Linked DNA regions of Homo sapiens: regions 1, 2, 3, 4, 5 and 6 are each linked to region 7. The links are contacts of gene promoters, found by promoter capture Hi-C in human tissues and cell types (Jung and others, 2019). All regions are on one chromosome and are shown on one strand. Each heading gives the region's core, a stretch centred on a gene start or on the middle of the fragment in contact. The rest is flanking DNA. Distances are from core to core; before and after follow the strand shown. Region 1 holds the start of COL6A2 (collagen type VI alpha 2 chain). Region 2 holds the start of COL6A1 (collagen type VI alpha 1 chain). Region 3 overlaps PCBP3 (poly(rC) binding protein 3). Region 4 holds the start of KRTAP12-4 (keratin associated protein 12-4). Region 5 overlaps CFAP410 (cilia and flagella associated protein 410). Region 6 overlaps PCBP3 (poly(rC) binding protein 3). Region 7 holds the start of POFUT2 (protein O-fucosyltransferase 2).

What was found. The method cuts DNA at HindIII sites, captures the fragments that hold promoters and counts their contacts. A contact is called where the count stands out against the background at its distance.
Region 1: a contact is called between the fragment with the promoter of COL6A2 here and the fragment with the promoter of POFUT2 in region 7, in 1 of the 25 tissues and cell types used here (lymphoblastoid cells).
Region 2: a contact is called between the fragment with the promoter of COL6A1 here and the fragment with the promoter of POFUT2 in region 7, in 3 of the 25 tissues and cell types used here (heart right ventricle, lymphoblastoid cells and neural progenitor cells).
Region 3: a fragment that was not itself captured here is called in contact with the fragment with the promoter of POFUT2 in region 7 in 1 of the 25 tissues and cell types used here (dorsolateral prefrontal cortex).
Region 4: a contact is called between the fragment with the promoter of KRTAP12-4 here and the fragment with the promoter of POFUT2 in region 7, in 1 of the 25 tissues and cell types used here (thymus).
Region 5: a fragment that was not itself captured here is called in contact with the fragment with the promoter of POFUT2 in region 7 in 2 of the 25 tissues and cell types used here (dorsolateral prefrontal cortex and spleen).
Region 6: a fragment that was not itself captured here is called in contact with the fragment with the promoter of POFUT2 in region 7 in 4 of the 25 tissues and cell types used here (dorsolateral prefrontal cortex, lymphoblastoid cells, mesenchymal stem cells and 1 more).

What each region holds. Positions count from the first base shown.
Region 1 is chr21:46,096,685-46,099,384 of GRCh38, reverse strand. COL6A2 (collagen type VI alpha 2 chain) reads right to left here and starts at 1,273. Exons shown (of 28, transcript NM_001849.4): 1 at 1,212-1,273. It overlaps COL6A2-DT (COL6A2 divergent transcript), which reads left to right and starts at 1,740. Exons shown (of 2, transcript NR_186433.1): 1 at 1,740-1,913. RefSeq lists an enhancer at 1,156-1,450. The HindIII fragment of the contact is 26,496 bases long and covers 1-2,700 here.
Region 2 is chr21:45,980,485-45,983,184 of GRCh38, reverse strand. COL6A1 (collagen type VI alpha 1 chain) reads right to left here and starts at 1,415. Exons shown (of 35, transcript NM_001848.3): 1 at 1,238-1,415; 2 at 422-551. The coding sequence starts at 1,334. LOC105372841 (a long non-coding RNA gene) reads right to left here. Exons shown (of 3, transcript XR_937803.3): 3 at 1,619-1,895. RefSeq lists enhancers at 1-794, 795-1,657. The HindIII fragment of the contact is 42,283 bases long and covers 1-2,700 here.
Region 3 is chr21:45,866,368-45,869,067 of GRCh38, reverse strand. All of the region lies in intron 5 of PCBP3 (poly(rC) binding protein 3), which reads right to left. Among named protein-coding and RNA genes, the nearest start is that of PCBP3-AS1, 31 kb to the right of the region's middle. The HindIII fragment of the contact is 9,205 bases long and covers 1-2,700 here.
Region 4 is chr21:44,653,332-44,656,031 of GRCh38, reverse strand. It overlaps KRTAP12-4 (keratin associated protein 12-4), which reads left to right and starts at 1,373. Exons shown (of 1, transcript NM_198698.1): 1 at 1,373-1,819. The coding sequence starts at 1,418. The coding sequence ends at 1,756. All of the region lies in intron 1 of TSPEAR (thrombospondin type laminin G domain and EAR repeats), which reads left to right. RefSeq lists enhancers at 1-408, 409-909. The HindIII fragment of the contact is 6,744 bases long and covers 1-2,700 here.
Region 5 is chr21:44,331,369-44,334,068 of GRCh38, reverse strand. CFAP410 (cilia and flagella associated protein 410) reads left to right here. Exons shown (of 7, transcript NM_004928.3): 4 at 807-1,036; 5 at 2,055-2,226. Among named protein-coding and RNA genes, the nearest start is that of CFAP410, 6.7 kb to the left of the region's middle. RefSeq lists enhancers at 1,700-2,199, 2,200-2,700. The HindIII fragment of the contact is 7,900 bases long and covers 1-2,700 here.
Region 6 is chr21:45,801,831-45,804,530 of GRCh38, reverse strand. All of the region lies in intron 4 of PCBP3 (poly(rC) binding protein 3), which reads right to left. Among named protein-coding and RNA genes, the nearest start is that of PCBP3-AS1, 33 kb to the left of the region's middle. The HindIII fragment of the contact is 9,548 bases long and covers 1-2,700 here.
Region 7 is chr21:45,286,491-45,289,190 of GRCh38, reverse strand. POFUT2 (protein O-fucosyltransferase 2) reads left to right here and starts at 1,296. Exons shown (of 9, transcript NM_133635.6): 1 at 1,296-1,450. The coding sequence starts at 1,320. It overlaps LINC00205 (long intergenic non-protein coding RNA 205), which reads right to left and starts at 1,139. Exons shown (of 3, transcript NR_026943.1): 1 at 947-1,139. RefSeq lists an enhancer at 1-685 and a silencer at 840-1,369. The HindIII fragment of the contact is 23,447 bases long and covers 1-2,700 here.

The sequences.
Region 1 (2,700 bases), core at 24-2,523, 810 kb before region 7:
CCAGGTTCAAGTGATTTTCTCCTGCCTCAGCCTCCCGATTAGCTGGGATTACAGGTGCCTGCCACCACGCCCGGCTAATTTTTTTTTGTATTTTTAGTAGAGACGGGGTTTCACCCTGTTGGCCAGGCTGGTCTCGAACTCCTGACCTCAGGTGATCTGCCCGCCTCGGCCTCCCCAAGTGTTGGGATTACAGGCGTGAGCCACCGTGCCCGGTCTGGCCTTTCTTGAAATAATCACCAGAGTCGAAGTGCAAGGGGGCCTCCAAGCCAGAGCTGTGTTATCCCAAGAACAAGGAGCTCCGCGGATCGCAGGCCCCTCCTTTCTGGGTTCCGACCCCAAAGGGAAGGTCCCTTCTCCAGGGGCGTCCTAGGCGCGGGCACCGGGGTTCTGCTGGCACAGCCCGGATGGGCGCCGCTCGCCCGCACACCTGCGGCTCCACAGAGGGCCGATCCGTTCGGTTGCCAGCAGTGGAGACCCAGGCCCAGCGGTTCCACCAGCGCCCCGGCGGAGTCCCAGGGCGGGTGTGGGCGGCCCGGCAGGGGCTGCGGGTCGCTGTCAGCCCGGGTCCCGCCGCCCTGGGGAGCCGCCTCCGTCTGCAGCTTCTCCTGGGCCTGGCGGGGCCCTGGTGGGCTCCAGGCCGGGAGGGGCGCAGCGATGGGGCGTCGGGGCCACCCGCGTCCCCTCCCCGCCCAGTCCCGCCCTCGGGCACCGAAAGCCCCTCCTCCCCCCGCCCCGCCGCCCCTTCCGTCCGGCCCGGGGAGAGGCCCTGCGCCCCCGGAGGTCCCAGCCAGCCGGGGCGTCTTCCCCGCGGGCCGGAGCCGGACCCGAACCGCTCGCAGACGCGGGGCCTGGCGGGGCGTGCGGTGCCGGGGTCGTCTCGGGAGCGGGGGTCCCAGCACCGAGCTCGGGCGCAGACAGGGACCCCCCCACCCCGCCCAGGCCGGCTCCGCCCCAGAGGAGGCCGCGGGGAGGTGGCCCCAAGTCGCGCGCCCGAGGGTCGGACCCAGAGACGCGGAGCCACAGGGGCAGGCGCGGCCCCAGCCCCGCGAGGAGGAGCCCCGAACCCGCCGAGCCCCCCGCCGTCCCTGGGGCTGGAGTCCCCCTTCCCGGGGACCCGAGGGACGGAGCCGCCGCCGCCGCCTTCCCAGGACTCGGGGTCACCCCCCGCGGGCCGAGCGGCTTCCAGGGTGCGGGGTCCGGGAGGCGCTCACCTGGTCCCGAGGAGGCTCCGCTCCCGACGGCCCGAGGCGCGGGCGCCGAGTAAGCAGCAGGGAGGGAACCGCGGCCGGCGCCGCCCCCTTTATACCCCGCCCCGCCGGCCTGACCCGCCCCGCCGCCAGGAAGCGCTGCGGCCCCGCGGATGGGAGGAGGGGGCCGGGGGCACGGGAGGGGGATGGGAGGGAAGCGGGGACCCTCGAGGGCGGGAGGCTGGAGGAGGTGGAGAGGGTGGGGACCCCCCTGCAGCCCGGGCCGAGCTCCCCCGCCAGCCCCTGCCCGCTGCTGCTCGGACTTCGCGTCCCGGGCCCGGCCGCCCGTCGCCCCCGCCCCATTTCCCGGACGACCTGGCTGGGGCTGTGTCCGCCTCCGGGGCCCTGGGTGTTGGGGACCGCGCCCCGCACGCAGGGCCGACGGGGGCCCTGGGACTCGCCCCTTGGTAGCAGCTGCCCTGGGGGGTGCAGGGTTCCCCCCATCAGCCCCCCGACCCCTCCCCTACCCCGTGTCCTGTGTCCGGCTTGCTCAGGCCTCCCGCGAGAGGCCCCGGGTCAGGAGCTCCTGCAGAAACTGCCGCTCCTGGGGCCTGAGGGTGGGGAGCCGGGAGGGCAGGGACAGCAGAGCCTGGGCGCGGAGGTTGGGGCAGAGCCTGGGCATGCGGCGAGCCACCCCTGCCACCCCTTTCCCGCTGGAAACCACAGGTGGGCTTGGTGCTGGGCCCTGGGACCACCGTGAGGTCCCCACCTGAGCCCAGCCGGGGACAGAGTGACAGGGGTCCCTGGTAGGGCTCTGTCTGGGGTCCCCACTCCCCACCCTGGTCACAGTCCCCCAGCCAGGGCCGGGGTTCCTCCTTGAGGTGAGGCGCAGCCGGGTTGGGGAGAGGTCCCTGGGCTCCGGGACAGGGCTCCCTTCAGAGCTGTCCTGGAAGGTGGCGGAGCGGCTGGGGGCGAGGTCCCTCTTCTGATGAGCAGGTTTGCAAATGTGGTGTGTGTGTGTGTCTGAGACTGAGTGTGTGTGGTGTGTGCATCTGAGTGTGTGGTGTGTGTCTGTGTCTGAGACTGAGTTTGAGTCTGTGGTGTGTGTATCTGTGTGTGGTGTGTGTCTGTGTCTGAGACTGTGTGCATCTGTGAGTGTGTGGTGTGTGTCTGCGTCTGAGGTTGAGTGTGAATGTGTGTGTCTAAGTGTGCCTGAGTGTGAGTGTATGTGCCTAAGTGTGCCTGAGTGTGGCAGCCACATGGTAGCCATGAGTCCAGGGCTCCTGCCTGCTGCTCCTGAGCACAGCTGACGGCGGGCACCGTGTGCCACTCCCCTGGGTCCATGCCGAACTCTCACCTGGGCAATGCCTCCTGCTTCCAAGCCAGCAGCTCCCAGGGGGAAGCCAGGCCCCTCCTCACAAGACCAGAATCCTTTAGGGGTTACCTTGGCTCCAGAAGTTCTCCCTCGGCCTGGCCAGCACTGTCTAGGGGCACGTGCTGGCCAAGGCTCCCC
Region 2 (2,700 bases), core at 166-2,665, 690 kb before region 7:
CACTGCCCACGGAACAAACCAGGGTCCAGGTGGTTAGTGAGGGGCTCCCGCGCACCAGGCAGGACTGCGTGTCTGGGCCAGTGCGCTGAGCCCTCTCGGTCAGCCTGCGGGAGCCTCTCTTCCCTACATCTCAGCCTCACTGTCACCTCGGCCCTGCTGAACAGGTGCCACCCCCGCGAGCAGGGTCTCAAACCAGCTCACTCTGGAAGGCGCTGGGAGAGGCTCAGACCAGCTCACTCTGGAGGGCGCCGGAAAGGGCCCCGGCCTCACTCTGGAGGGCGCCGGGAGGGGCCCCGGTCAGGGCAACGCTCGCCCAACCTTAGGAGGTTGAGGCCGTCGCACCCGTGTTCCCCTGGGCCCCCACCCCTCCCTCCAAGAGGCCCAGAAGCACAGGAGGAAGGTCACGGGGCGTCCCTCCTACCTGTCCCTCAGGTTGTCGATGAAGCGCTTGGTGAAGGACTTGACTTTGTCCACGAGGGCCCCGTAGGGCTTCAGCCTCAGGGCCACGCTCTCAGAGGTGTCCAGCACAAAGAACAGGTCCACGGGGCAGTCTGGCCGAAGATGGAGGAGAGGGGCCTTCAAGCTCTCGCCCCATTCCCCGAGTCTCTGCTGGGCCTGCCCTCCCGGCCAGCCCAGCGCCTGCAGCACAGAGCCCCGGGCCCGGAGAGGCTCTCCCGGGAAAAGGCAGCAGGACGTCCCTCGGTGGGGACGGTGGGGAGGGGGTGGAGTGAGAGACCCCAAACCGCTCCTGTGCCTCGAGGGGAGTCAGAAACCTTCACAACCTCCCCCGAAGGGCAGGGCGTCCCCGGCACGGGACCGGACAAGTGAGACCTCACGGGAAGGTTTCTCGCTGGATTCAGAACCAGCAGCGCACGACTTCTTCTAGAACGGGGGTCGGGGGGGCCGTGCGTCTGGACTCACTGCCAGGTGAGGGGTCAAACGGATTCACGGGGCGCCGAGACAGCCCCGCACCAGCTCCCCCTCGCCAGGGAGCCCCTCCCGAGCTGCCTGCGGTCCGGCCCCGCTGAGAATGCTGAATGCTGAGCCTCTAGGGGCCCCGGCCAAGGCCCGGTGGGGCAGAGCTGGGCGCTGCAGCCGCCCCGAGCGGGGAGTGGGGTTCAGGGGCTCCAGGCCCCCAGTCTGCAGTTCCACGCGTGGGAGGGGACCCCGCGCATCTGGCCCTGGCCGGCAGCAAAGAGCGGGGGGTCTGGAGCCTGCACCCCAAGCCACCACTCACCCTGGAAGGCCACGGCCCTCGGGGTCTCCGGCTCATCCTGCGCGGCTGTCCAGCAGGCCTGCAGCAGCAGGGGCAGCAGAGCACGGGCCGCCCTCATGTCTGGGGCCTGCGGTCACCACACAGCGCGGCCAGGGCAGAGTGGGCCGCCGCCGCCGCCCAGAGACCGAGGCTGCCTTCTGCTCCCAGCCAGAGTGAGAGCGGAGGGCAAGGAGGGGAGGGGCGGGGCGAGAGGGGCGGGAGGGGAGGGGAGGGGCGGGAGGGGAGGGGAGGGGCGGGGCGGGAGGAGAGGGGAGGGGAGGGGAGGGGCGGGAGGAGAGGGGAGGGGCGGGAGGGGAGGGGCGGGGCGGGAGGGGAGGGGCGGGGCGGGGCGGGGAGGAGCGGCCCATGAGTCACCACCTCCTTGCTGGGGTCTCTCCCTCCAGAACCGGCAGCAGCTCCGAGCCCAGGGAGAAGGCGGTTTCCCTGGCTGGCTCGCCGCGGCCTGCAGTTCAGTTCCCGTGTCAGGGAGGAGGAAACTGCAGCAGCTGAATCAAACGTCTGAAAACCAGCGTGTCACCCAGGGAGAGTTCCTTGAAACATCTTTCGGTAGTTTCCAATCCAGACGTCTCCATGCGGGACGCACGGGCAGGCTCACTCGCCTCTTCCCACCAACCGCCTCCTGCAGAGGACCTCGCCGTGAGCTGAATTGTTGCTTTATCAGATCTCCGCGTTCTTTTTTCACGTCAATATTTCTTCACAGTATAGTCGGATACGTATTTGCCAAAGATATTTCAGTTTGTACCGTGGGAAGACAAAGTTGCTCACAATATAGTTGTTATATATGCTGTGTGTGGAGACAGAGAGACAGAGACAGAGAGACAGAGAGAGACAGTGAGAGAGAGACAGAGAGACAGAGACAGAGAGACAGACAGAGACACAGACAGAGGAGAGACAGAGACAGAGAGAGAGACAGAGACAGAGAGAGACAGAGAGACAGAAAGACAGAGAGAGACACAGAGAGACAGAGGAGAGACAGAGACAGAGAGACAGAGACAGAGAGACACAGAGAGACAGAGAGACAGAGAGACAGAGACAGAGAGAGAGACAGTGAGAGACAGAGACAGAGAGACACAGAGACAGAGAGACAGAGAGAGACAGAGACAGTGAGAGAGAGACAGAAAGACAGAGACAGAGAGACAGACACAGAGAGACAGAGGAGAGACAGAGACAGACAGAGAGAGACAGAGACAGAGAGAGACAGAGAGACAGACAGAGAGAGACAGAGAGAGAGACAGAGACAGAGACACAGAGAGAGGAGAGACAGAGAGAGACAAAGACAGAGACAGAGAGACAGAGACAGAGAGAGACAGAGAGGAGAGACAGACAGAGACGGAGAGACAGAGACAGAGAGACAGAGACAGAGAGACAGAAAGAGAGACAGAGAGAGGAGAGAGGGGCTGTCCCTGATATCACCTGGGGGTGGG
Region 3 (2,700 bases), core at 27-2,526, 580 kb before region 7:
TGCCAGAACGCACACCTTTATTCATAAACACAACCCTAAATACCGCACAGGTAAAATCCATAAAATAAACCTCCAGCTGGGGCGTCTGAATTGTTGAATTTGTTCTTAGTGAATTCCAATGGGAAGAAGTGAGTCTCGTGAGCTTTGCTGTGGCAGGATCTGAAAGAGAAGTGTCCACCGAGCTGCCCAAAGCCAACCCCACGTCCTGCGGGGCTCCTGTCAGTACCACAGGGGCAGGAAGCCCTGGCTTGGGTGAGGACGTCCGCCATGGCTCCCTTCCCTGTCTCGGCCACCCCGTCCTAACGCCTGCCTCCCGGGTTCTTCCCAGTGCTGTGGGCTGCAGTTTCCGGTGACGGGGGGACGTGCAACGGGGATGTGGACAATGTTTCTGGAAGTCTGGCCAGGAGGCGGGCCCAGGGACAGGCTCGCAGAAATGCCCGCCAGACCCGCCCAGGCTGAAGCAGGGAGCTGGGCAGGCATGGGGACCCCGAGACCCACGTGGATTCCTCAATGCGCGGGCCAGACGCCTTAAGGCTCAGTGGCGATTTAAACTGCAGAAAGTCAGACACACACATTTGTAGGTCACCCAGACCTGTGGCTTTTATTGACTGTAACAGCATCGGAATCCTTTATTTAAAAAAAAAAAAAAAAAAAAAGAACAAATAAGTCAACACAAACACCAGCGAAGCTGTTCAGGCTGAGATTCGGCGGCGCAGAGCAGGATGTGGGCCGCCTCCAGGCAGCCGGGCAGGCAGGACCCTGGGGCTCTGAAAACCGCGCAGACAGAGGAAGCCACCCTGCAACCCTGGGCACCCACACCGGGAGGTGCCCCTGTCCCTAGGCTCTCTCCTCCGAGGCACCCGCTTTGTTCTGCGTAAACACCACATTCCAGGTGTTCTGTGACTTGATTTCAAAACCCAGGCATAACCGACAGGCAGTGAAGCGCAGGAGTCTGAAGTGACGGTTTGATGTCCACTCGGCACTTGCCGTATGGCCACTAATTCCGGACGGGCCCACTGCGCCTCCGAGTGAGGTGCCAGACCCCCTGGCTGCCAGCCTCCTGTGGCCTCTTCAGCACCATCTGGCTTGCGCCTTTTTTTGTCCAGCTTTTTGACTCAAAGTAACATTTCTGAGACTCTTCCCCGCTGTGTGTGCGACGGCGCTGGGTTCCAGCTATCGCTCTTCCTCTTACCACAGAGCAGAATTCCACGGCGTGAGCCTGGTCCCGGCTGGCCCCTTCTGCTGTGGATGGCACTGGCCACCTCCAGTGTGGGGCTGAGGAAGGAAGACGCTGCGTCCAGGAGGGCGAGTCTTCTGTGGCCGCAGCCGGACTTGCTGTCCTGTGTTCATGAGAGACAGCTATCCGTCTCCACGATGGGCGCAGCCCCCAGAGCTCCTGCAGCTACAGCGAGCCTGGAGATTTCCCTTCTCTCTCTCTGATAAACAATCACGTCGCAAACACCTGGACCATGTCTGTGCACAACACAAGGGTCGGGTGGCAGATTCCTGGAAGGAGAACTGGCTGGTGGAAGGATATTTGCATGTATAACCTTCACGGCCCGCACCCTCCGCGTGCGGTGAATGCGGGTAGCAGGGGTAGCAGGTGCGCCAGGGACCCCGTAGCGGCACACCCTGCCCGCACGCCCGTGTCAGGTCCTGTATGCTGGTGACTACCATCGGGAAGTCTTTCGGGTCATCCGTATTCTGTTTCTAAGCAGCTGTACGTTCATTTCTAGGTGGTTGCTGCTTTCACGCGGATTCGTGGGGGCTCCATCGCTGTCCTGCGAGCGATGTTGCTGCTCCCACAGGCTGGCCCTGCCTCAGATCCGGCGCAGCAGCCGTTGCGTGCCCGCGTTTTGTTCCGTCCGCCGCCTTCCCTTCCACGCCTGCTCTGCCTAGGATGCCCTCCCCAAAAAGACCACGTTAAACAGCCACACACGCTTCTATGGCTGCTGTGGCGTTGCGTTCGGTGTGTGGCAGAGTACTAAACCGTGTTTTTGAATAGATACCTCAATGACCGATGTCTTTCACTGAATAGTCTTCCCATGCCCATTAATTTAAATACCACTGTTTTTTAAGCAAAACAAAACAAAGCCTCCAGTCCTGCCTGTGTTAATTACTCCTGCCGGATAATGTTCTGTTATGGGATTCCTGTTCCCTTCTTTCCTGTGTCCTTCTGACGACTGTCCCCGACCTCCGCCCTAGTACACGCATCTCCGTGACGGTGCACATGCAGACGGGGGTGGGGTGGGCAGGAGGACCACAGGGAAGGGAGGGGAGAGGAGAGGGGAGGGGGTGCTGGAGCCTCTGGCAGGGGAGAGGGTGTGAGGAGCTGGCTTCTGAACAGGCTTCACGCTCGTGTGCATCTGGGGCCAGCCTGAACACCTCAGCCTCTCTGGGATTGCTCCAGCCACCCCCGCCTCCCACCAGACCCCTCCCCAGGTCCTCTCCTCCCCTAAGGCCATCTGTGGCTGGTTCCTGCCCCAGAGACACAGACCCTTCATTTCTCCTGAGCCCCTGGAGGCCTCACAGCCTCTGCCACAACGTCCCTCCCACCCAGCCTCTGTCTTGGGTTCCTGTTAACCTTAACCATGAGCGAGCAGGACCACATTTTCTCCACAGCCCCTTCTCCTCTCACGTTCCATGAGCCTCTCTTTTGCTCGGCATCAGGGCAGATGGGGCAGGCCCTGTGTCATTTCC
Region 4 (2,700 bases), core at 124-2,623, 630 kb after region 7:
GGCCACAGATCGGCTCTGGGTCCATAGACTTCTAAGTTCTGTCCACAGCTCTGAGACCCCACTTGGTCTTCAGCCTTGGAGGGGATTTCATTAATGTGGTGTCTGACTTGTCTGAAGGCTTCTTGGCAGGAATCACCCATATCCACCACCAGCAGGCACAGAAGGACCCACACAGGAGCAGAGGGTGCCCCTGGGAGCTGCCTGGGATGGACAGAGTAGCTCTGCCCTGAGAGATGGCTCATCCCCCACCGTGTGACACCACCGTAGAATAAAGCGCTGTGGCCAATCCATCAAGAGAACAGAGCTGGAGTGTGAGGAGGAGCGTGTCATCCACACTCCTGCCCGCTGCTTCCCAAGTTCAGGGGCATCCTGGAATTTCACACCAGCTCCTCACTTTCCCCCAAGCTGCCTCTGCAGGGGTGAGACTGATCAGACCCACAGCGAGGGAGAGGAACCAGATATGAATAGCTCATGCCCGACTCCGTGATGGGTCCTCCTGGGCTCCGTCTGCAGAGGAGGTGTCCTGTGGCCATTAGTGCTACTCGTGGGAAGTGGGCACTTCTGAGGTGTGGTGTCAGGAAGCCCACTGTGGTCACACGCCTGAGCCATGCTCTGCAGACGCCAACGTGGCTGATGTTTTCGTCCATCTTCTCTGTCCGAGCTGGTTCAGGACTTCAGGATGAGTCACTTATTGAACCTTCAAGCCCTAGTATAATTTGGCACAGTGGTAACGACCATGGATCCCAGAGTGAAACTAAGCAGTCCAGATCCCTGCACCTCTGCAGTGGTGCAGACACGCACCCATTGTGCAAACCCTCTATGACTTACAAATTGCACATCTGTAAAATGGGGTATCGGCCACCCCGAATGCTGGCAAAGATGAATGAGATAATCACAGCCTGGCACAGTGCTAGACCTCTGTGCATTACTGTTACCTCAATAATCATCATTATTATTCCACAATATAGAGCCCAGTAGTTTGGCTCTCGTTACTTGGGAAGACCCTGATGATGACTGAGCTTCTCAGTCAAAACGGGGCCCCTGGTGTAGTGAGTGTGACTGTGCTTGTGTGAGCTCCAGATGGCATTTACAACGGGGGGACCTTGAACATCCATGAGGTGGGCCCCTGGCCTCACTGACAGCCCTTCACCAGCTACCCCTGCTCTGTTTCCAGGAAACACACGGTCTGCTGAATGATAGGGCACCCCTAGCTGAAAGAGTTTCCTGAACTGAGTAACCTCAACAGAAAAACACAGAAAGATCAACCAGACAGGGCAGAGGAGGAAAAACCACCCACGAGGAAGATGCCAGGGGGCTTGTTGCCAGGATGCCGGTAGCCTGGGTATAAAGGCCACCTAAGGAAGCAGGCTCCAGACCAGCCCTGTCCTCTGCGCCCCCCACCTGTCCACACTCCATCATGTGCCACACCAGCCACTCTTCGGGCTGCCCAATGGCCTGCCCTGGCTCCCCGTGCTGTGTCCCCAGCACCTGCTACCCACCCGAGGGCTATGGGACCTCCTGCTGCTGCTCAGCCCCCTGTGTGGCTCTGCTGTGCCGGCCCCTGTGTGGGGTATCCACCTGCTGCCAGCCAGCCTGCTGTGTGCCCAGCCCCTGCCAGGTGGCCTGCTGTGTGCCTGTGAGCTGCAAGCCTGTTTTGTGTGTGGCTTCCTTCTGCCCAACCTCTGGGTGCTGCCAGCCCTTCTGCCCCACCCTGGTCTATAGACCTGTCACCTGGAGCACCCCCACTGGCTGCTGAGCAGGTGGCCTCCTATGACCCTCGTAGGTGCGAGGTCAGAAGCCAGCAGGCTCTCTGAACTCCTGCCAGGCAGTCCCCACATCCTCCCACAGCAAACTGTCGTCACCTGACTAGACCGCCTGCCTCCTTTGCGGCACCGTCACTAGATCCCAGCCGGTGAGGCCATGCGCCTTTCTACACAGTTTCTCCTGGGTTCACAGCCTGGGCCATCCACAGGGCCCTCCGCACTGTCTGATGTTAGGTCTCTTGCAAATATCATAAATACCAGATGCTGAGTGCTCACCTGAGTCTGTGTGATGCCTTCTCCTCAGTGTCTTTCCCACACTCCTTCCTCAGGAGGTACCTTCCCCAGGATTCTGGAAAGCTCCTTCCCTGCAGAGAAGGGGCAGGTACCAGATGAATGTTAGGCCTGGTGAGCGGCCTCTCAACAGCACCCTCTCGGGCTAGTGGGCCGTGCTCCTGAGCTTGGCCTGATGGGAACCCCCAACCCCAGTCACATCAGGCTTCCTTCGTCCCACTTTGTTCCTTAAATGTATGAGGTCAGTTCTTACTCTCTTCTGGGTGAGATTGAGGACAAATCACTAATTTTGTAGTTTGATCCATTTTAGGTAAAACGGGCCATCTGCTTATTAGCTGGTATGTGCAACCCACTCTTGTCAAGAAATTAAAACCTTAAACTAAATTTAAATCTATAGCTACTCCTTCATCCAACTGGATGGGAAAGAGGTTTGTGGTGTTGATAAAAAAAGCTTTTAAGGAATTAAAGTGAGCTTTACTCAGAAGTTTTACCGAGGACTATAGAAGAGTGAGGTTTCTAGCCGGGGGCAGCTCTGTCAGAGATTCCGGCTCCGTGTTTCAGCTCACACCAGCCCGGGGGCAGCCCTGTCAGAGGCTCCGCCCCGGGTTTCAGCTCACAGTTCATATGCAGGTGGCGGGAGGTCAGC
Region 5 (2,700 bases), core at 40-2,539, 960 kb after region 7:
TGCTCTTGGTAAAATGGGGCGGCCTCATAGCTAGGAGCTGCATGAGACCTGGGAAACCCCGAGTGAAGGGATGGCATGGGGAGGGGGGCTCAGGACGGCAGGCTGCCCATGGGGGCCTGGTGACCGCCCTTCTGAGGCGCCTGCCGGACGCGAGTGCAGCCCTCCAGGCAGGGGGCCCTGGCTCCGCGCCTTTGAGGGCCTGCGGGAGCGGCTCCGCGTGTTCGCTTGTGGAGGGGACGGACCCCACGCTGCAGGGTAAAGCCTGCAGGTCCCCGCTCCAGGCCTGCTGTTTCTCTTCTCTGACGCGTCCACGTTCTGTAGAATGGAAATGAGGCCCATCCCCAGTGTTGCCGCCCTCAAGTGGGGGTTTGGAAGGTCCGTGCTCACTCCCATGTCACGTGGAGCTGGCTCCTAGTTTTTGCCATGAGTTTTTCTGGCCGCTCCCTGCTTTGGGGCAACATGATATGTCCCCTGAGAGGCCTTAATTTTCCTCACCTGTGAAGGAGGGCCACATCCCCCACCTCCCGCACTCTAGCGCCCTGAGGAGCTGATGTGGAGCGTCGGGCCAAGGGGCTGTTGCTGGTGGGGTCCACCCCAGTCCGCCTTTGAGTTCAGGGCCTGGCCTTCCTACAGCTCTCTCCTCGGCCCAGGTCCTGCTGCACGTGACTTGTGACATCCGATTTAGGCTTCTCAGGAGAGGGCAGGGACACAGGTCCCATGAGTGCCTTTTACTGGGGGTGGGGATTGAGAGGTGGCCCTGGGGGCCCTGGCCACGTCCCTCGCTGACTGTGCTGGTCTCCGTGCAGTGTCAACAGCATCTCCACCCTGGAGCCTGTGAGCCGGTGCCAGCGCCTGAGTGAGCTGTACCTGCGGAGGAACCGCATCCCCAGCCTGGCTGAGCTCTTCTACCTGAAGGGGCTGCCGCGTCTGCGGGTGCTGTGGCTGGCCGAGAACCCGTGCTGCGGCACCAGCCCCCACCGCTACCGCATGACCGTGCTGCGCACCCTGCCGCGCCTACAGAAGCTGGACAACCAGGGTAGGTGGCCGCAGCGGAGTCACCGGCCCTCCCAAAACAATCCCTGGAAGGGGATGTCCCCAGCCCTCTTTTCTCTTCTCCTTTTCTGCAAATACCTGGTCTGGCGGGACATAGATGTGTCCTGTGAAGTCTCCTCCAGAGGCTGTTCCCCTGGCTTCTGTGTCTCCTCTTGATCCCGCCACCCGAATGCAGCAGCGCAGCGTAGGGTCCCTCCTGGGACTGACAGTTTGGGTATCCCCCAACGACCGCAGGACCTGGTAGCAAAGCAAAAGGGTTCCTTCTTTTGCTTCTGTGAGTAGCAGCCCTGCTCTGACCATCGCCATGCGCCATGGCGAGCGGGGGCGTCAGTATCTGGCAAGCAGCATCGCACTGGTCCACAGGGACTGGGCAGGCTCCACGGGCCACTGTGAACCTAGGGTGGCGGTGCCATCGCGCCCCTGCCGTGGGGAGGGGCCGTCCCAGCACCGCAGTGCCTGCTGCTGCGCTCCACCTATTGGAGGCACTCGTGCCTCCTCTAGCCAGCGCCAGCACCGACACAGTTTTCCAGGCTGTGGTTTCATGCTGTTTGTTCATCCTTGGCATTCTCAGCACACTAGTGTCTCATCCTTGTCAGGTATACAGACACCACTATTTTCTCCCAGACAATTTTATTGATATTAATAATATAAACTTCAGGGAAATTGATATATGAGAGAAATGGAATAAATTCAATATGGTCTGTTCCTTTTTCTATTGTGTCTTAGTTGAGGTTTTGAGGAGTATTTGCTTCTGGCCAAGGCTGGTGTTGAGATTCCTGAGCAGCCCTCCACCATCTGTTGTGTGTCAGCCTGTGCCAGGCTGGGGATGGGACAGTGAGGAACCGGCTGCTACTCTGGGAGTTGTCCCTGGAGGTGGATACACGTGCATGCATTTCACAAGCAGACTGTGCCTGAAGCCACAGTGAGGACGGGAGCTGCAGTGCATGTGGCCTGCACGTGGGTGAGGCCACTCATGCTGTCTTCTGTCTTTCATCCCAAAGCTGTGACGGAGGAGGAGCTGTCCCGTGCACTGAGTGAGGGAGAGGAGATCACTGCGGCCCCAGAGAGAGAGGGCACAGGCCACGGCGGCCCCAAGCTATGCTGCACACTGAGCTCCCTCAGCTCCGCTGCTGAGACTGGCCGGGACCCGCTGGACAGCGAGGAGGAGGCAACGTGAGGCTGGAGGGCAGCGGGGACTCCGCAGCCCATCCCTGTCCCCCAGGGTCCTCCCACGGGGAGTGAATGGGGCTTCCCGTGAGCTGCGTCTCTGGGAAGTGAGGGACAGGGATTATCCGGGGGGAGTGTCTGTTCTCATCCATATTCTCTGGGAGTGACTCAGTGCCCAGGTAGTGATTTCAGTGGCAGGTCCATGTTTTGCCCAACAGCGGATGTGCCAGGGAGCAGGAGAGGGGGTGAGCCAGGCCCCGTGCCCTGGCACAGAGAAGGCTCACAGCACCAGAGCTCGTGAGGTGCAGGGAGCCCCTGGTGGGGGGGGTGGCCTAGGGCCACAGTGACTGGAATGGTTTGTGGGCACGGCCATCAGTGCCCGTATGGCCTTGGGCCTGGGGGCCGTGGAGGGGCCACAGGGCTGACTCTGCAGTGAGACGCCGGCGCCTCCCAGGGCAGTTGGCAGCGGGTCACGAACGC
Region 6 (2,700 bases), core at 22-2,521, 520 kb before region 7:
CACACATTTTCACCAAACATCTCCCCCAAGACTAGGATCTTCAGTAAGCTCCCCGGCTCATTTCCATGGCTTTTGGTTTTGCCAGTTAATCGTGCTGTTTCACATGGTTTGATATTGTACACCACCTCAAAGCCTTTCAAATAGCTGGAGTAAATCAATATAATCTACATGGATGGTGTGGGCACTAGGAGGCAAAACATTTTATACCATTTTTATTAATAATAAGTTACCAAGATGACAAGATATTGTACCACTAATTCTAAAAACAGAATCCCTCCAAAGGAGTACTGTGAACACGCCAGAGCCTGCAGCACAAAGCCCGGTGCACAGGAGGGAACCAACGTGTAGGTGCCAAGCGAAACAGCAATGGGGTAAAAAACACTACAGCCACGCGGGCAGCAGAGAGGGAGGCGCGGCAGCAGGCAGTGGGCACCTGTGGGCTGGGCCTCCTGTTCCAGGCAGACAGCCACCTCCCCTGGAGGCCCACAACACCACAGATGAGGAAGAGAAGCACCACAGATGTCTCAAGGATGTTCAGTGCCAGGACGCCCCCAAGGCACCTGCACTAAGGTCTAGGCGTCCTTCATCTCAGCGAGGGCACAAGTGAGATACAGCACAGTAACAACATTCATGGGAAGGGACTCAGCAGCCCACCCCAGCAGGACCTGGGCCATCCGGTGCCCTGGCACAGGGTCACCTCCCGAGGCCTGACTATGGCAGCGAGGCCACGGGGAAGCCATGTTCCAGGCTGTCACCATCTGGGTCCTGGAGAAGCTCAGGGGCCTCTTGGAGCCCATACTGCTCCAGGTTCCTCTGGGTTACCCCAGGTTCATGCCCAGCTTGGCAGTGCCCAGGGACCCTGGGGTGGGCATCAGAGCCAAGCACTGTGCAGGGCAGCTCAGCACACCTTCCTGCCCTCAGTGTCCTGTTTGCATTTAAACTTCATGGGAAAGCTCCCGGCACTGGCAGTATAAAACCACCACGGCTTTTTCCCGACCTAACAACAGACTGCAGGATTCTTGGAGAAAGGGTCATCCTTGGGTGGAGAGGCCTGGACTTCCCCTCATGGCCCGCCCCCAAGCTCTGCTCTCGCCCTCCTTTCCTCAGGACCACCCCAGTGTGCAGCTGCTAGGAGGGGATGCCACCTTCACCACCACAGAAAAGAAACAATAAAAACAATAAAAATGGCTGCTGTCATTGACCAAACCATTCTGGGGGTGAAAGGTAAACAAAGGTCAATCTGCTTATTTTAAAGCATGGCCAGCTGCATGTGCAAAAAACACACCAATACCCTTGCATGGCCACTACCCCCAGCAGAAAGGTGGGCTCTGCCACTCAGACTGTAGCCTCTGCCTCTGCTGAGAAAGTGAGGAGGGGACGCACCCACACAGCTGCAGGCACACCAGGCTGGAGGCAGAGACAGGCTGTTTTCTCAAGTTGCTTTGTGACTGACTTCCAACGAATAGATAAAGAATCAGAACAAGTGTTTGCACAACAAAACAATTTTTGTTTTCAAATTATGACTGTACAATGCAGACGGGAAATGTTATTTTTTATTGAAAACAAGAAAAATCATTAAAAAGAACTCAAAGAGATTCAACAGTAAATATATGAGTATCAATGAAAAATGCACCAAGACCTAGTGAGTCGTTTATACACGACAAGGGTTAAAAGCTTTTCCCTCCGTGGCCTGTGTGTGGTTTCCCTAGGGTTAGCCCTGCTCAGGGCCCTCGGGGACCCTTCCCATCCCTGCCTCCTCCCAGCACCAGCCCTGGAGGCCCTGCCTGGGGTCCTTGGGGACACGATGCCCCTCCTGCTCCTGCCTCCCTCAGGGCCTCTCCTCCCCATGAAGGAGAGGAACATCCCAAACACACAATCTGACCTCCTGCCCTGCTTAGAGCCCCACCATCCTCCCCCAGCCCGGTCCTCCTCCTCCGTCAGCCTGTCCCCATCTCTTACGTCTCCCAGGGGCTCCTGTCCCTTCTCCAGCATGGCTCACTTTTGCTCTCAGAGCCGTCTCTGCAGAGCCCTCTGGGCCACGTGCCCTGACACTCACACCACCTTGGGCAGCCCGGGCACAGGACAACGTAGGCACTCAGTAAGTACAATTGTTTTTAATGAACAAGCTAAGAAGAGGCGAGTGAAGGGAGGTGATGCCATCAGGGCTGTCTTGAAAGAGCATCCTGACCATGGAAGACAGGACGCTTCAGGAACACAGCAAGGGGTGGTGCTGACGCAGGGGCCGGACAGCTAGCTCACCCCCAGCCCCAGCACCCAGCTGTGAGCCTCTGCACCCAGCCCACTTGCATGACAGGGCAGAAACAGCGCCCAGCTGCAGAGCCGCTACCAGGAGAATGTGGGCAGAAAGAGCTTGCACTGGGCCAAGGCCTCTGCCCAGGATGGCATCCAAGGGGTCTGAGGGTAAAGGAGGGAGCCCCGCTAACCACCCAGCCCAGAAGTCACTGCTGAATCATGACGATGCCCTCAAGGAAGAGGAGGGGAGACCCCGAGAGCCACAGAGGGACAGTCAGTGTCACAGGACAACCGAGCGGCTCCACTGATGACGCTGAGATGTTCGGGAGGGATGTGCACCATGAGATCACAAACATGATTAACCTGCAGAATCTGATTAAACTGAGTAGATCATGGGGAGTAATTATATGGGTTTGGATCTCCACATACTGTTTTTCTATTTCCACA
Region 7 (2,700 bases), core at 47-2,546:
TTTGCTAATTTTTTTAAATGCTGTGTCTTGGTTCATGAAAGACATTGGTCTGTGGTTCTACTGTCTGGTGATGTCTGACTTTGCTATCAAGGCAATGCTGGCCCATACATCGAGCAGGGAAGTGCCCCTCCTCGTCCATCGTCTGAGTGGCTGGATTCCTATTATTTCTTCTCTAAGTAGGATTCACCAGCTTGGCCCTCTGGGCCTGGAATTTTCTGTGTGAGAAAATTTGATAACAAATTGATCTCAAATTTAACAGATAATAAGCATTAGTATTTTCTTTTTTGGTAACTGGCATCCTTCAAGAAATTCGTCCAATTATACCGTTTTGGGGGCTGCCTGCACTAGAGTCAGCGTGGCGTCCCCTCAGAAGGCCGGGTTTGCCAGCGCCGCGCCCCAAGCCAGGTCGGTCGGCCAGTGCTGGTGCCCTCGGGGAACAGCGGGAGCTGCCTGGAGGCTGCGGGGAGCGGCGGCGGCGGGCACGCACCTGGCTCCCGAAACCAGACCTTTAATAACGCCTCGCAGAAGGGGCGGGGTGGGAGGTTGGCAGCGCAGGGGCGGCAGCCCCGGATCCCCCCAGGTCTCCAGATCACCCCATCGAGCCCCGCGCCCTAGCAGCACAGTCCCTCCAGGGCTCCTTGGAGGGCCAGGCCTCAGCCCGGGTGCCCCCTCGCCGGGGCTCCAGGGTTGGGGGCACCCAGGAGGCCGCAGGTGTGGAGCTCGACGGCGCCCCCCGACTAGAAACCCAGGCTCTCATGCGCGGCTCCCGCCCCGACCCCAGCTCCAGAGGGGCGAGAGCACCCGGCGCCGACCCCGTCTACGGACCCCCTCCTCCGCCCCGCCCCCGCCGTCCAGCCCTCCCGCCCCTACCAGCCCCGGGCCTCCTCCCCACGGACCCGCCCCGCGCCACCAGCCGTCAGCCCTCCCGGCCCCCAGTCTCGCGTACCCTCCCCACTGGCCTGCAGGGTCCACCGACTTCCCGACCCCGGGACCTCCCGACCCCCGGACCTCCCGGCCTCGCGGACCCTCAGGAGCCCCTGCGTGGGCTGCGCCAGGGCGCCCGCGACAGCACCGCCGCGAACCACAGCCACGGCCTCCGGGTCTGCAATGGAACCTCTAGCCGCTGCGGTCAGGAGGGCGGAGACTCTGCGCACGCGCAGTTCCCCCTCCCGCCCCTGCTTGCCGGTGATGGCGCATAACGCATGCGCGGGGAGGGCGGAGCTGGGCGTTGCCGTGGCTACTGGGAACGCATTTCACGGGGGCGGGGCGTGGTTCCGGGGCGGGGCGCGGCCGCCGGAAGTGCGTGGCCGCCCGGGGCCATGGCGACACTCAGCTTCGTCTTCCTGCTGCTGGGGGCAGTGTCCTGGCCTCCGGCTTCTGCCTCCGGCCAGGAGTTCTGGCCCGGACAATCGGCGGCCGATATTCTGTCGGGGGCGGCTTCCCGCAGACGGTAAACGCGCGTCCACGGTGCCAACGCTGGGGTTCCAGGACCGGGCAGGGTCAGAGGATGGGATGGGGGCGGGGCGGGGTCAGGGGCCAGGGAGATGGGATGGGGTCAGGGGCAGGCCCACGGGATGGAGGGTGGTCCGGGGCCAGGGAGATGGAATGGAGCGGAGTTATGGGGCAGGGGCCAGGGGGATGGGATGGAGCGGGGTCAGGGGGCAGGGGTCAGGGGAATGGGATGGGGTCAGGGTTCTGGGGCAAGGAATGTGGCGGAGTAAGGGGCCAGGGTGATGGTATAGGGGCAGGGGGCAGGGGCCAGGAGGGATGGGATGGGGGCGGGGCAGGGATCAGGGCGATGGGATGGGATGGGGGCGGGGCAGGGGCCAGGGTGATGGGATGGGATGGGGGCGGGGCAGGGGCTAGGGCCAGGAGGGGTGGGATGGGATGGGGGCAGGAACGGGGGCCCGAGGGATGGGATGGGGGCGGGGCGGGAGCCGGGGCCAAGAAGGATGGGACGGGGACGGGACAGGGGCAGGGGCAGGGGCAGGGGCCGGGGCCGGGCTGGAGTCTGGGGGATGGGATGGGGCGGGGGCTGGGGGCAGGGTCGGGCCAGCGGGTTGGCTGTAGTCGAGGCTGCGTCACTGCGGCCCGGGTCTGCAGGCGGGGTCGTCTGCGAGGCCCGGGGCGCAGCCTCGGGAGCCCAGGAAGGGGGCCGGGTTGCTCAGGCTGAGCGTGGGCTGGCTCCGGAGGCCCCTGCAAGTGACACGGGTCCAGGCCTGGGTGTGCGGAGCCGGGAGTCAGTGCCGGGCGGGCGCTCCGCAGTGAATTCTCAGGGCCAAGACGAGCTTCGCGGCCGCCCTGTGGCTGTGGGATCTCCAAGCGGACCCCGGGAGGGGCCTGGACGCAGAGGTGTGCACGGCCCCTCGTGGCGTTCGCAGGCCTGGGCGCTGCACGCAGCTTCACTCGCGACGATGGGAGTATGGAAAACCAGCGCAGAGCAGGGAAAGGAGAGCGCCAGGGACAGGGTTTCTGTAGCCCTTGGGGACTTGTCTGTGCCTTGGGGACTTGTCTGTGCCTTGGGGCGCTTTGTGTCCTTCCTCTAGGGCAGTGATCTTAAAGTGTGTCCTGGATCTCTGAGCTTTTGTAGCCGTTTTAATAGTAGTACCAGAGTATTATACGCCTTTTTCACTTCTCATGAATGCACTGTGGAGTTTTCCTAGAAACCACTTGATCTGTGATGTCACAACAGATTGAATG